Linked DNA regions of Homo sapiens: region 2 is linked to region 1. The links are contacts of gene promoters, found by promoter capture Hi-C in blood cells and fetal thymus (Javierre and others, 2016). All regions are on one chromosome and are shown on one strand. The core of a region is centred on a gene start or on the middle of the fragment in contact, and the rest is flanking DNA. Distances in the headings are between cores, read along the strand shown.

Region 1 (6,528 bases), core at 2,890-5,389:
ATCTGTAAAATGGGGACAATAATGGTACCTTTCTCATAAGGAAAATTAATCCAGGTTTATGAAATAGCCAGGACAAGTAAGCAGCCAAGAGATGTTAGCTATTATTATTATCTTATGATTATGCAATTCTTGTTCCCTGATCTATTTGTCATCCACTTTCAGACTTCCTTGTGGATGAGAAGTTTGGACTAATCTCTATACTCTTTCTCCCCCAGCCTCCTTTGAAAAAGGCACATTCTCAGCTGGGTGTGGTGGCTCACGCCTGTAATCCCAGCACTTTCGGAGGCCGAGGCAGGCGGATGACAAGGTCAAGAGATCCTGGCCAACATGGTGAAACCCCGTCTCTACTAAAAATACAAAAATTAGCTGGGTGTGATGGCACATGCCTGTAGTCCCAGCTACTCGGGAGGCTGAGGCAGGAGAATCACTTGAATCCAGGAGGCAGAGGTTGCAGTGAGCCAAGATTGCACCACTGTACTCCAGCCTGGCGACAGAGCAAGACTTCATCTCAAAAAAAAAAAAAAGAAAAAGAAAAAGGCACACTCTCAATAGGATAGAGCCTAGAGGCCACAGGTGAGGCCATGGAGGAAAAAACCCCCAACCTGGCACACCCTGGTTGAGTGAGGTTCAGCCAGGGCACACATAACCTTGTGCTGGGGAGAAGACGTGCAGCCTGAATCCTCATTGCCCACCACTATCCTAGACCAGTCCTCCACTACCTGTGCAGGGACCACTGGCTTGGCCTCCTCACAGTCTTCCACTGTGGCTCCATGCCTATTGAGCACACCAGCAAAAGGGTCTTCTCAAAACATAACCCAGCCCCACATCACACCCTCTCTATCACACACACTATGCTACCCTTCCCCCTCTCTGCTCCAGCCCCCAAGCCTTTCATATCCTTGTGGATACCGTGATGCTTCCCATCAAGGGCCTTTGCATATTGGGACCTCTTCTACCACCCTAGTTACCTTCTACTGTCAGTCATATCAGCTTAAGGGTCACTTTTCTCCACAGAAATCTTCCTTGACCTCTCAGAATAGATGAAATGCCCTAAAATGTGTTCTCCCTCATGTCCTCATGTCCCTCATGTCCTGCATCACAGTCACAAGTTTGATCGTCTGAGTTGTTAATGCCTATTTCCATCTTCTAATGTCTGGGCTCTAGGAAGGCAAGAATGGGTCTATAGCACAGGCCTAATACATAGCAATCGCTCAATAAACACTGATAATTAAATCAGTGAGGCCAGGCGTGGTGGCTCACGCCTGTAATCCCAGCACTTTGGGAGGCTGAGGTGGGTGGATCACTTGAGGTCAGGAGTTCAAGACCAGCCTGGCCAACATGGCAAAACCCCGTCTCTACTAATAATACAAACATTAGCTGGAGGTGGTGGCGTTTGCTTGTAATCCCACCTACTCGGGAGGCTGAGGCACGGGAATCACTTAAACCTGGAAGGTGGAGGTTGCAGCTAGCCAAGAGCACGTCACTGCACTCCAACCTGGGCAACAAAGTGAAACCGTGTCTCAAAAAAAATAATAATAAATAGAATAAATCAGTGAAAGAGCAGCACTCTAGCCTAAAGAGGAAACCAGACCTCTCGAGATGATGTCACAGCTAACAGTCTCAACAAGGCCAGGTGAGAAGTATACTTATCAGGGTATCTCCTCCACTCCCTGTCCATCTTCCCCCTCTTCCCTAAAGCAAGGTGAAGCAGCCCCCATGCCAGGCAATACCGTTTGCCTCCAAAGCTGGGCCTCTCATCATCCGAGTCTCGCTCTGCCCACACCCCGTAGGTGGCTTCTTCCTTGGTCTGCCAGTGGCGCTGTCGGTTGGGGTTGAACTCATTCTGGAGATCCCAGTCAGTGATCTCAAAGTTCTCCCGCTCGTCATCATCATCATCAATGCGGCCTTCCCCATCCCGGTATAAGTGGGACAATGACATGGCCAGTCACTAAAGGAAGAGACAAAAAGAGCACAGGCCGTAAGTCCTGGGGGCAGCAGTCGAAGGATTCCTTGTGAGTCTCTATTCCTTGCTGCTTTCAGAACTTTCTCCAAATTCAAAGTCCATTAAAGTCAGCATTACTATTCAATAAAAAAGATATTAAAAACCTACTTTTAGATAACAATCAGTACTAAAACAGGTGAACAAAATACTACTCCTAACAGTCTATGATTCTTTAAAAGTACATATCTCCTTGTCCTAGTCAATATCATAAATATCACACATATTCACACATACACAAACCACACAAAAATAACTAAGTAGGTTATTTTGTACATTATTACCTTAGAAAATGAGTAGGTATCTTCTTAGATCCCAGATTCTTTTTTCTATTACTGAGGAAAGAATTATATCTGGATCCTTGGTGGTCCTAGGAGAGTGATTTTTTTTAGAATATGCTTTTTGAAATACATTACTTGATGAAACAAAATTTTCAGTTTTCCTCACAAAACATGAATTTCTTCTGATGAACTGAAAGACTGTAGTAATTATGAACACTATTTTAATAGTCAGATGTCCAGAGATTGATATAGAGAATCTACCTCACAGTAGCTGGGTGACCAGATTCAGTTGTCTTTCTTAAATTGGGATTAACTACCATACCAACCTTAGAGAAGGCTTACAAAGCAAATTCAATGAGTTCAAAATAAGTGCTCAAGAAACGATAGCTTCTACTTTAGTCCCATGATTAGGTTAATCATTGTATTAGTCAGGGTTCTCTAGAGCGACATAACTAATGGAATAGACATACATATATAAAGGGGAGCTTATTAACTATTAACTCACACGATCAAAAGGTCCCACAATAGGCTGTCTGCAGGCTGAGGAGCAAGGAGAGCCAGTCAAGTTCCAAAGCTGAAGAACTTGAAGTCCAATGTTCGAGGGCAGGAAGCATCCAGCACAGGAGAAAGATATAGGCTGGGAGGCTAGGCCAGTCTCTCTTTTCACATTTTTCTGCCTGCTTATATTCTTGCCGTGCTGGCAGCTGATTAGATTATGCCCACACAGATTGAATTGAGGGTGGGTCTGCCTTTCCCCACCCACAGACTCAAATGTTAATCTCCTTTGGCAACACCCACATAGTCACACCCAGGATCAATACTTCGTATCCTTCAATCCAATCAAGTTGACACTCAGTATTTACCATCACAATCATCATTATTATTATGGGACTAGGGAGTAAACTTAGCAAAGTGACTGTAAAATCAGGCAGGCTAAAATCGAAGCCTGAGTTCAAATTCAACTCTATCAGATACCCAGTGTATGAGAATTAAATATGCACGTGAAGCGCCAAGCATGGTGCACTACACAATAATACACTCCATAGGTGACAGCAATTGTGATTCTTGTCTTGCTGAAAGCGGCCTTAAGGCACACGGAGTTCACTACTTCCACAGGCAGTGTCAAACTCTGGTCACCTCTGGCAAAACGTTATCTCTGCCTTCTTCTACTCACTGGTGCACCGGTTGGGTGCAACGGGTCCCAACCTCTTCCAGGAGTGTTTAGGACAGAAGGATTTTCAGAAAAGACGGGGAATCTCAAATACATAAAGTTAAATAATACCACTGCCTGCGTGGGCATAGTAAATGGTAATAAGCCCCGAGTAGTCACAAGTTATGAAGCCTTTATCAGTAGATGCTAGGTACATGCTGGTCGCTTGAGACCGATTATCAACTGTCTGCATCAAGACACTTCTGCAAGGTAGGTACCGTTAGTTTTCATGCTTCAGATAAGAAAAAGGAGGTTCAGAGAAGTTAGTAACTTACCCTAGGTTCCACTGCTCATAGGGCTCAAACTCAGGAGTGCTAGAAGTCAGGCCTCGGGCTTGTCTCTCTCTTGCTGTCTAGGTTTGGTGAAGGAAGCTCAGGTTCTTAAATGAATCCAAGCCCTAAATCCCAGTTGACCCCAAGCAGCACCGCCCCTCTCCGTGCCTCGGCAGAGCTGTCTACGAAATGGATTCCCCTCCCCACACCCCAACGGCTTGGACCGAAGCTCGCCTTCCCTGAGCCTTCGTCCCTACTCTCACTGGCGCTGAGTCCCCTTGTGGCCAGCCGTGCTCACCTGTCCGAGGGTCCAGCGTACCAAATTCAGCTTCACCATCCGCGCGAGAAGACGCCGCTCCTACACCAGAACCCGGAAGCACCGTGGCCGGCGCGCCGGAAATGACGTTAGTCGACAGCGGATGTCCTGCTGGCTGCCAGGGCAGCGTGGGACGCTACGGCGGATATGGCTGCAGAGCGGCCGGCTGGGATCTTAGATAGGAGGGGTGGATTTGCAAGGCCTAGAATAGCTGGGGAGTGGTTTCCCCGCGGAATCGGCCTCCCTGCCGCTCCTGCTTTGTACTGTGACGCTCAGCCTGTGATGACTGGTGTGGAATCCGCTGAGCCACCTTGGCCTAAGGAGACTTTACCACTCTGAGATTGTAAATCTGTAAAATAGAGATGTAGGATTAGCCCATACGGTAGTTGTGGTAAATACTGTGAGACAATAAGGGGCCTGGGACACAGCATTCAAATGGGAATAATGAAGGTCAAGACTGTGATTCCTGTATCTTTGACGCTCTCGGTATAAGCACCGTCGTGGGCACAGGGCAGTGGCCTTTATGCAGGAGTTTAAGAGGGAATGAAGGAATGAATGGGCAAACTCTGGAGTTCCCAAGTATTCTCTCCAGGAGCTGTTTCCATTCTTTTCGTTTCCAGCAGGTTGGTAAATTCATTAATTTATTCATTGATCTAATTAAAATATACTAAGTGCCCCTCACCTGTGCTAGGCCAATGTGATACAATGAGCAGAACAGTCATGGGCCCTCCCTGGGAAGCCCTCACTAGCCCAAGGACTCCTTGTAGACATTTAAGTGTCCACAGGCTCTGGAGTTCCAACCTTGAGTGCAATTTAGCAGCTGTGGACCTTGGGCAAGTCATTACATCTAAGCCTGTTTTCTCTTCTGCAAAATGGTTAAGGATTCAATAAGATAAAACTGTAGGCAATGAAAACCGTACCTGGTAACAGTAGGTGCTGAAGAAGTGTTAGCTATTAATTTTTGCTTAATTTTTCTCTCTCTGCTCTATGTGATGAAAAGATTCAAGAGGCAATTGTTGGAATGTAAAAAGAGCACGGGACTTGGAGTCAAATACTTAAGTCTACCATCAAGTAGTTGTTAAGAATTAAACAACAATTTTTGTGTACCCAGTTAAATGTGGGCTGCTTAGGAATGATGACTGTGTCTTAATGATCTCTGTATTCTTAGTGACATGTAGAATCATTGTGCCTGACACATAGTATGTACTCAGGAAAGAAATGGAAAATGTGGTTTTAGCATTGAAGGCCGGGAGAGAGGGTCTAACAGACTACAAGCCCTGCCAGGAGCAGAGTAAGGGAAACAGAGGAGAAAAGTGTTTTTAGTCTGTGCCTGAATGTATTTACATCTGTTTGTAGCCCAAAAGCCAAAAGCATACATACGCTTGGCTTTTCTGTAGCTATGTTTATGGCTTTACAGCAGATTTTATGGAGCTGCAATTACTTTGATCATGAGGGACTGATGCTAGTGGATTTACTTCACCAAATGGAACTCACTTTGTGGCTTCTGAAGAAGGGACCTTTGTGGACTGTCATGGAGTAGTTAAGAGTGCAGGCTCTGATTTAGTGATCAGAGTCTGCATTGTCAGGAATGGGACAAAGTGAAGTTATGTGGCACTTGATAGGATGCCCTGAGAAGATTGCAACATCACCCCTGTGATATTCCTGCTGAAGATCCATAACCTGGATGTAATCATGAGGATATATCAGACAAACCCACGTAAAGAGACATGCTGTATACAAAACTGTAATCTTAGAAAGTGCCAAGGTCATGAAAATCAAAGATAGACCCTGGAACTGTTCCAAACTGGAGGGGACCAAAGAGGCATGACAACTAAACACAACACATGATTCTGAACTGGATCTTTTTGCTTGAAAGGAAGTTACAGGGACAGTTGGAAAAGTTTAAATGGGGCCTACAATGCCGTGGTAATGATGTGTCCGTGTTAATTTCCTGATTTTCATGGTTGCCTGTTAAGTTACATCAGAGGATGTTCTTGTTTGCTGGAAAGTAAATCAATGTATTTGGCAGGGGATAAGGCATCAAATGGTCACCTTAATTTCAAATTATTACAGGGAAAATGTTTCTCTCTGTACTTAATAACTTTTTTGCAATTTCTTAAAATGAAAGCTCTGGAGTAAAAACTTCAAGGATCCAAATCTCGACTTTGCTACTTCTTAGGTATGGGCCCGAGGGCAGGTTGCTTCACCTCTCTACACCTCAATTTTTCCATCTGTAGATTGGGGATAGTGACAGTACTGATCTAAGAGAGTTGTTTAGAGAAAAACAAAAACAGAAAGTGATAATTAGTGCATGTAAAGCTCCTGGCATGGTAAGAGCTTTCTAAAGGATTGTGGCTATATTCTTATTTATTTATTTATTTATTTATTGAGACAGAGTCTCACTCTGTCGCCCAGGCTAGAGTGCAGCAGCACAATCTTCGCTCATTTGC
Region 2 (6,421 bases), core at 3,154-5,653, 170 kb after region 1:
TTGGAACCCAGCCACCATGGTGTGAGGAAGCCCAAGCAGCTTCAAGAGGCTCACGTGGAGAGGAACCAAGGCTCTCACCCACAGCCTTGGCTGAGCTCCTGGCAATCCTATGGATGAACCATTTTGAAGGTGGGTCATCCAGCTCTAATTGAGTCACTGCAGTGGATACTGCATGGAGCAGAGACAAACTGTCCACACCAAGCCATGCTCCAATTGCAGGTTACTGAGCAAAATGATGGTAGTTTTAAGCCTCTAGGTCTTGGAGAGGTTCATTATGCAGCAATAAACAAGGATACAGTTCCTTTTAAGAAACAACTTTGTTTCTGTCTCAGCTGATCTCAGGATCTTTTTTCCCCAAATCCTAGTCCCTTCCAGCATTTTCCATCTCAGGAAAGAGCCCCAGTCTCTCCGGTTGCTTGAAAAAGAAACCTGACAGTCATTTTTCTTTCCTTCCTCAATCTCTGTCACAGCCATTGTCGAAGTCCTGTCATCTTACCGCCTAAATCTCTCTCTTTTTTCTTTTCTTTTTTTTTTAAGAAGGAGTCTTGCTCTTTCGCCCAGGCCTGACTGCAGTGGCGCTATCTCTATCTCGGCTCGCTGCAAGCTCTGCCTCCCGGGTTCATGCCATTCTCCTGCCTCAGCCTCCCGAGTAGCTGGGACTACAGGTACCCGGCACCACGCCCAGCTAATTTTTTGTATTTTTAGAAGAGACGGGGTTTCACCGTGTTAGCCAGGATGGTCTCGATCTCCTGACCTCATGATCCGCCTGCCTCAGCCTCCCAAAGTGCTGGGATTACAGGCGTGAGCCACCGCGCCTGGCCTTCTTTTTTTTTTCTTTTGAGACAGAGTTTCACTCTGTCGCCCAGGCTGGAGTGCAGTGGCACCATCTCGGCTCACTGCAATCTCCGCCCCCTGGGTTCAACCGATTCTCCTGCCTCCCGCCACTACGCCTGGCTAATTTTTGTGTTTTTAGTAGAGACAGGGTTTCACCATGTTGGCTGGGCTTGTCTCGAACTCCTGACCTCAAGTGATATGCCCGCCTCTGCCTCCCAAAGTGCTGGGATTATAGGCATGAGCCACCACATTCGGCCCTAAATATCTCTTCTCACTTTATTCTATCCCCCTGACATTGCCCCAGTCCAAACCACCAGCCTTCTGTTTTGGACAGCTGTGGCAGCTTTCTCACCAGCCTCACAGTTTCATAAGGAAAACGGGAATCTTGATATATGAATGATGTACGGAATAAGAAAAATCATCAGTGTTCAGTTTCCTTCACCTCCAGTGCTGTGTCTCTGAGCCCTTCATTTGTTTTTGCCTGGACTGTTCCCTTTTTTCCCCACATGAGCCCAGGATAAGACCCCTCCGGTCACTACATCTTGTCTATGCATAACACCCTCCTTGACTAAGCCTGAGCGAGTTCACTCACTGCTTTGGTCTCTGGGCAAGCAGGTCCTGTTTATTTTTTTTTCCCCATCTAGACTTTAGATTTGGATTCAGTAGTAGATCAGATATGCATTGACACTGTCCATGTGCCAGGCTCTGTGCTAGGCACCTAGAATAGAGTGGTGAGAAGAAACTAAATGTCTGTCCTCATGGAATTCTCAGTCCAGTGGGGGAGACAGGCATTCAGTATAGAAACAAGAAAGTTAAATCCTTTCTACCACTGTTTATTGCTATGAAAAGAAGTACGGCAGGACAGTGGGACAGGATGGCCCGGGTGGAGTGGAGGATGGGCAAGATCAGGCGGTGGTCAGAGAGGGCCTCTCAGAGGAGGTGGCATTTGAGCTGTTAAGATGGAGTCAGCCATGCGACATTAGGAGAAAGTGTCAGCAGGGGGAACAGCAGGGGCAAAGGTACTGAGGTGGGGATAAAGCTTGCCATGCTGAAGGGACAGAGGTAAGGCCAGAGCATAAGAGGCTGGTGGGATGTAATGTTGAAGGGGCAAGCCAGGGTTGGATAACTCAGGGCCTGCTGAGCCACAATAAGGAATCTGATTTGACTCTAAGTATATTTGGAAGCCATTGGAGGGTTTTGTACTGCAGAGTGACACCTCTGATTTATGCTGTAAACACTGGCTTCCAGCTGCTGGGTGCAGAATGGATTGGAGGGGGACGGGGAAGCAGGAAGCCTGGGGCGGAGGCTGTGGAGGAGTCCAGGTGAGAAACTGCATTTATCAAAGACACCATCCACACTGGTGTTGTGGGGCTGAGACTCCTCTGTCTCCACTGTGGACCAGCTACCCTGTGCCTGTGACTTCCAGACACTTCTGTCTGTTATTCTTTAAAAGGCAGTTCCCTCCTTAATTCTGAGGTGAGGATCTGCCTTCACAGACTCACTTCAGCATCCTGAAAGTCTGCCAGAAGCCCAGTCTGACTGCCTGAGTGAGGCCTTCCCAGCACTGTGTTAAAAGCTGGGATTGAACCATTTGTTCAGGCCCTCCAATCCTAGCTGTGCCCTACCTCCCCAGCAACTTCATCCTCTTCAGAAGGGCTGTCCCCACAAATAAGGCGGCAGCAACACCGTAGTGTGTTGACATTGGACTTGTGTTCTTATCTAGATGTACCAGGGCTGTATGACCTATGGCAAGTCATTTTACCCTGTTTTCCCATCTCTGCCACCTTCACCGCCTCTCCATATTGGTTCAACAAATGATGTCTCACACCTGTAATCTCAGCAATTTGGGAGGTTGAGGTGGGAGGTTCGCTTGAGGACAGGAGTTCAAGACCAGCCTGGGCAAAACAGTGAGACCCTGTCTCTACGAAATAAAAAAATAAAAGTAAAAAAATTAGCTAGGCATAGTGAGGCACACCTGTGGTCCCAGCTACTCGGGAGGCTGAGGCAGGAAGATCGCTTGAGCCCAGGAGTTCGAGGCTGCAGTGAGCTATGATCATGCCACTGATTCCAGCCTGGGTGAGTGAGTGAGACCCTGTCTCTTAAAAAAAAACAAACAAACCAGTAAAGGGTTTGTGCATGGTGAGGGGCCACTTGGAATTGAGAAAGCAACCAGGTTGTTAGTACTTTGAAAGAGAGAGGCAGACACCCCTTCTCTCCCTGGTGGGGCAGATAACACTGCTGTGCACACCATTAGTGCCCATTAAAAGTATCCTTTTATGAGGGCAAACTGTTCTTCAAGTTCACCTTGGATATTCCTGCTCGGTGTGAACCTCACCTGCTTTATGAAGGCTTCCAGGTTCAGCTGACCTCACGTTCCTTATGTCTGGCTGGACTCTGGATAAACTTTAATCCAAACACCCAAGACACTGATTTGTAATTTTCTTTGTGTAGATCTTTCTTCCTGATCAGGCCAATGTGTCTCGAAATGAGGCCCTCCAACCACATCATAGTTTTCAAGGTGGAATGGGTTAAAAATACAGACCCCTCTGAATCAGAATCTCAGTGTGTCGGCCCAGGAATCTGCGTCTCTGTTTTTTTTTTTTTTTTTTTTTTTGAGACAGGATCTCACTCTGTCATCCAGACTGGAGTGCAGTGGCACAATCATAGCTCATTGTAACCTTGAACTCCTGGGCACAAGGGATCTTCCTGCCTCAGCCTCTGAATAGCAGGGACTATAAGCACGGGCCAGCATTTCTGGCTATTTTTATTTTTTGTAGAGATGGGATCTTGCTAGGTTGCCCAGGCTGGTTTTAAGCTCCTGTTCTCAAGCCATCCTCCTGCCTTGGCCTCCCGAAGTGCTGGGATTACAGGCGTGACCCACGATGTCTGGCTGAATCTGTCTTTCATCTGGCAAATGATTCTTGGGCTCGCAGATGTTTTAGAACCAGTGCATTACAGAGTGAGTTCCTAAGCAGAGGGACTGCATCGGATACAGCACCACGTACCACGGTCCCCTGTGCAAATCTTACGCTCAATAAATGCATGTTGCTTGAATGAATGAGGTTTTAGGCAGGGATGTGGGGAGAGTCATTTTATTCTTCCTAGAATCCCCCACACTCGCTGATGGTCCCCATGTTCGACAAGAGGTCTCACCAAATTTTTCTGCCACTGGGAAACTTCTCCAGTAAGAATTCCCCTATGCCCCACTGTATAATCTTCTCATTAATACACAGTATTGTAAAGGTGATCTATAATTAGATGCTAACCGCGTTTGCCGTAAAATTGGGTGGGCGAGGTCAACAAGGTAAGCTGGGAGCCGGCTGATTGTTATGATCAATCAATAACCTATTTATTTCCCAACATTTCTATTAACCTCTGCCAGCCAATCACAGTTTCAATTTGAAAGGCTGGGGTCTGCTTTGCTGACTGGAGAAGTCTGATTGAAAGCGGGCCTCTGACATGACCCCAAGGGCGAAATCCAATTAAAATCATTTTCACTGGTAGATTAATATTTTTAGCATGTTCTACATCCTGGGATTCATCATTCCTGGCAATAACTAATGTCTTGTGACACGAGCAGGTGGATTGGCACTGCCATCAATAATAATTGTGATTAATTAGCTCATCAGGTGCTAGGATGGCTTTGGGGAGGCAGTTGGTGCAGCTTCTGGGAACTTCTCCCGTCAAACCCTGGTTATGTGGATGTCTCTGGGTCATACCAATGTAACGGCCTTTTCTGAGTAGGAATGGTGTTTATCTGTCTCTGGGTCTGAAACTCCCTTGGAACTATGAGTTCCTTGAGGGCAGGTATTATTTCTCATTGCTTTCAGCAAGTCACTTATTGTTTGGCACACCCAGCTGCCCTTTTCTGAAGACTGTCCTTTACTTTCTCCATCCGCACAGCTACAGTAGAAGCCACCATATTTGTGTAACATGGCCCCATTCCTGGCTGCTGCTTATTGAACTGGGGTAGAGCCCATCTTAAGCCAATGGCTCCATTCTTGGATGCTCTTGATTGGACCAGGGGTAGGTCCCGACCCAAGCTGGGACAATGAAAGCATCAAGGCACCACTTGTGGACACTGTTGATTGGACAAGGGGTAGAGCCAATCTTAAGCCAAACCAATGAAAACCTTATGGCACCACCTCTGGATGTGGTTGATTGGATTAGGAGAAGGGCCCAACCCAAACTGGGCCAATGAAAGCCTCACGACCCCACCTGTGGACACTGTTGATTGGACAAGGGGTAGAGCCCATCTTAAGCCAAGCCAATGAAAGCCTCTTGGCTCTACCCCAGATGTTGTTGATTGGACTAGGAGTAGAGCCCAATCCAAGCTGGGCCAATGTAGATCTTCCTTAGTATGGAATTAGGTTTAAGGGAAGGGGTCCTACTGGCCAACTTGAGTATTTAGGGGAGTTGATGGCCATTGTTTGTACTGTAAACAGGGAACTAGTTATGAATGAAAGTGGTGCTGAGAGAGGAGAAAGGATGAGGGATACAGAAAGTAGTACATCTTAGATTTCCTGGTACATCTCAGTTCCTGTTTCCAGGCCACTCCTGAAACCTGACTGCATTCCAGCTCCTTGGTTCTCTGAGTTATCTCTGCATCTTTGTAATAATTATTCTTCCCCCTACCTCCCTTGCTTGGGCTAATTTGAATGAGTCTGTTACTTTCAACCAAAAGTATCCCAGTGAATTTAGAGCCCAAGAGATGTCCAATGTCACACTGCAGGCCAATGAAAAACTATCCTCTTTCTGCTGACTCTCAGATGCAAAGCCTTTTGGGGGAAGAAAGAAACAAGGAAGAAAAAATAACTCACATTTATTGAAGGCCTACTGTGTGTTAGGTGCTTTGCAATGTCATGTATTTAATGTTTACCAGGCTGGGAGGTAGATTTTATTTTATTAGTTTACAGATGAGGAAACCGAGGCTCAGATATGTTGGATAACTTGTCCAGAGAAGAATTGGGGGTTGTATTTAATTATTTTGGCAAATTCCATGATTGCTGAGCACCCCATGTTGTCTCTTAAAAAGAGGTGTGGCCGGGCGTGGTGGCTCACGCCTGTAATCCCAGCACTTTGGAAGGCCGAGGTGAGCGGATCACAAGGTCAGGAGATCCAGACCATCCTGGCTAACATGGTGAATACCCGTCTCTACAAAAAATTAGCCGGGTGTGGTGGTGGGCGCCTGTAATCCCAGCTACACAGGAGGCTGAGGCAGGAGAATGGCGCGAAGGCAGGAAAATGGCGTGAACCCGGGAGGCGGAGCTTGCAGTGAGCCGAGATCGCGCCACTGCACTCCAGCCTGGGCGACAGAGCGAGACTCCGTCTCAAGAAAAAAAAAAAAAGAGGTGTGCTGCTTTGCTGTAGATATCAGCATGAGGCTGTTGAAAGATAATGAGGTAGCCAGTGGGGACCCTGGGAAGAAGTCAATCTTCAGATTGGTGATCAGCCTCTTGAAGTCCTGTAGAGAACAGACAGAACCAAGAGTTGAGTCTTGACCAAGTCTCCCCCACCTTCAAAAACCATCTCCTTCTAGAACCCACTCACTGCTTTCTGATTGCTTCAGGACTCCCAGGACCCACCC

Evidence for each region. Contacts are between HindIII fragments. The CHiCAGO score rates a contact against its expected background, and 5 or more counts as called.
Region 2: a fragment that was not itself captured here is called in contact with the fragment with the promoter of TFIP11 in region 1 in 1 of 17 cell types (neutrophils); the score reaches 5.2 in neutrophils.

What each region holds. Positions count from the first base shown.
Region 1 is chr22:26,508,334-26,514,861 of GRCh38, forward strand. TFIP11 (tuftelin interacting protein 11) reads right to left here and starts at 4,140. Exons shown (of 15, transcript NM_012143.4): 1 at 4,061-4,140; 2 at 3,766-3,842; 3 at 2,284-2,369; 4 at 1,731-1,948. The coding sequence starts at 1,939. It overlaps TFIP11-DT (TFIP11 divergent transcript), which reads left to right and starts at 4,199. Exons shown (of 2, transcript NR_144529.1): 1 at 4,199-4,701; 2 at 5,079-6,235. RefSeq lists enhancers at 4,023-4,202, 4,425-4,962. The HindIII fragment of the contact is 18,663 bases long and covers 1-6,528 here.
Region 2 is chr22:26,682,277-26,688,697 of GRCh38, forward strand. All of the region lies in intron 1 of MIATNB (MIAT neighbor), which reads left to right. Among named protein-coding and RNA genes, the nearest start is that of MIATNB, 13 kb to the left of the region's middle. RefSeq lists an enhancer at 1-116. The HindIII fragment of the contact is 5,065 bases long and covers 1,872-6,421 here.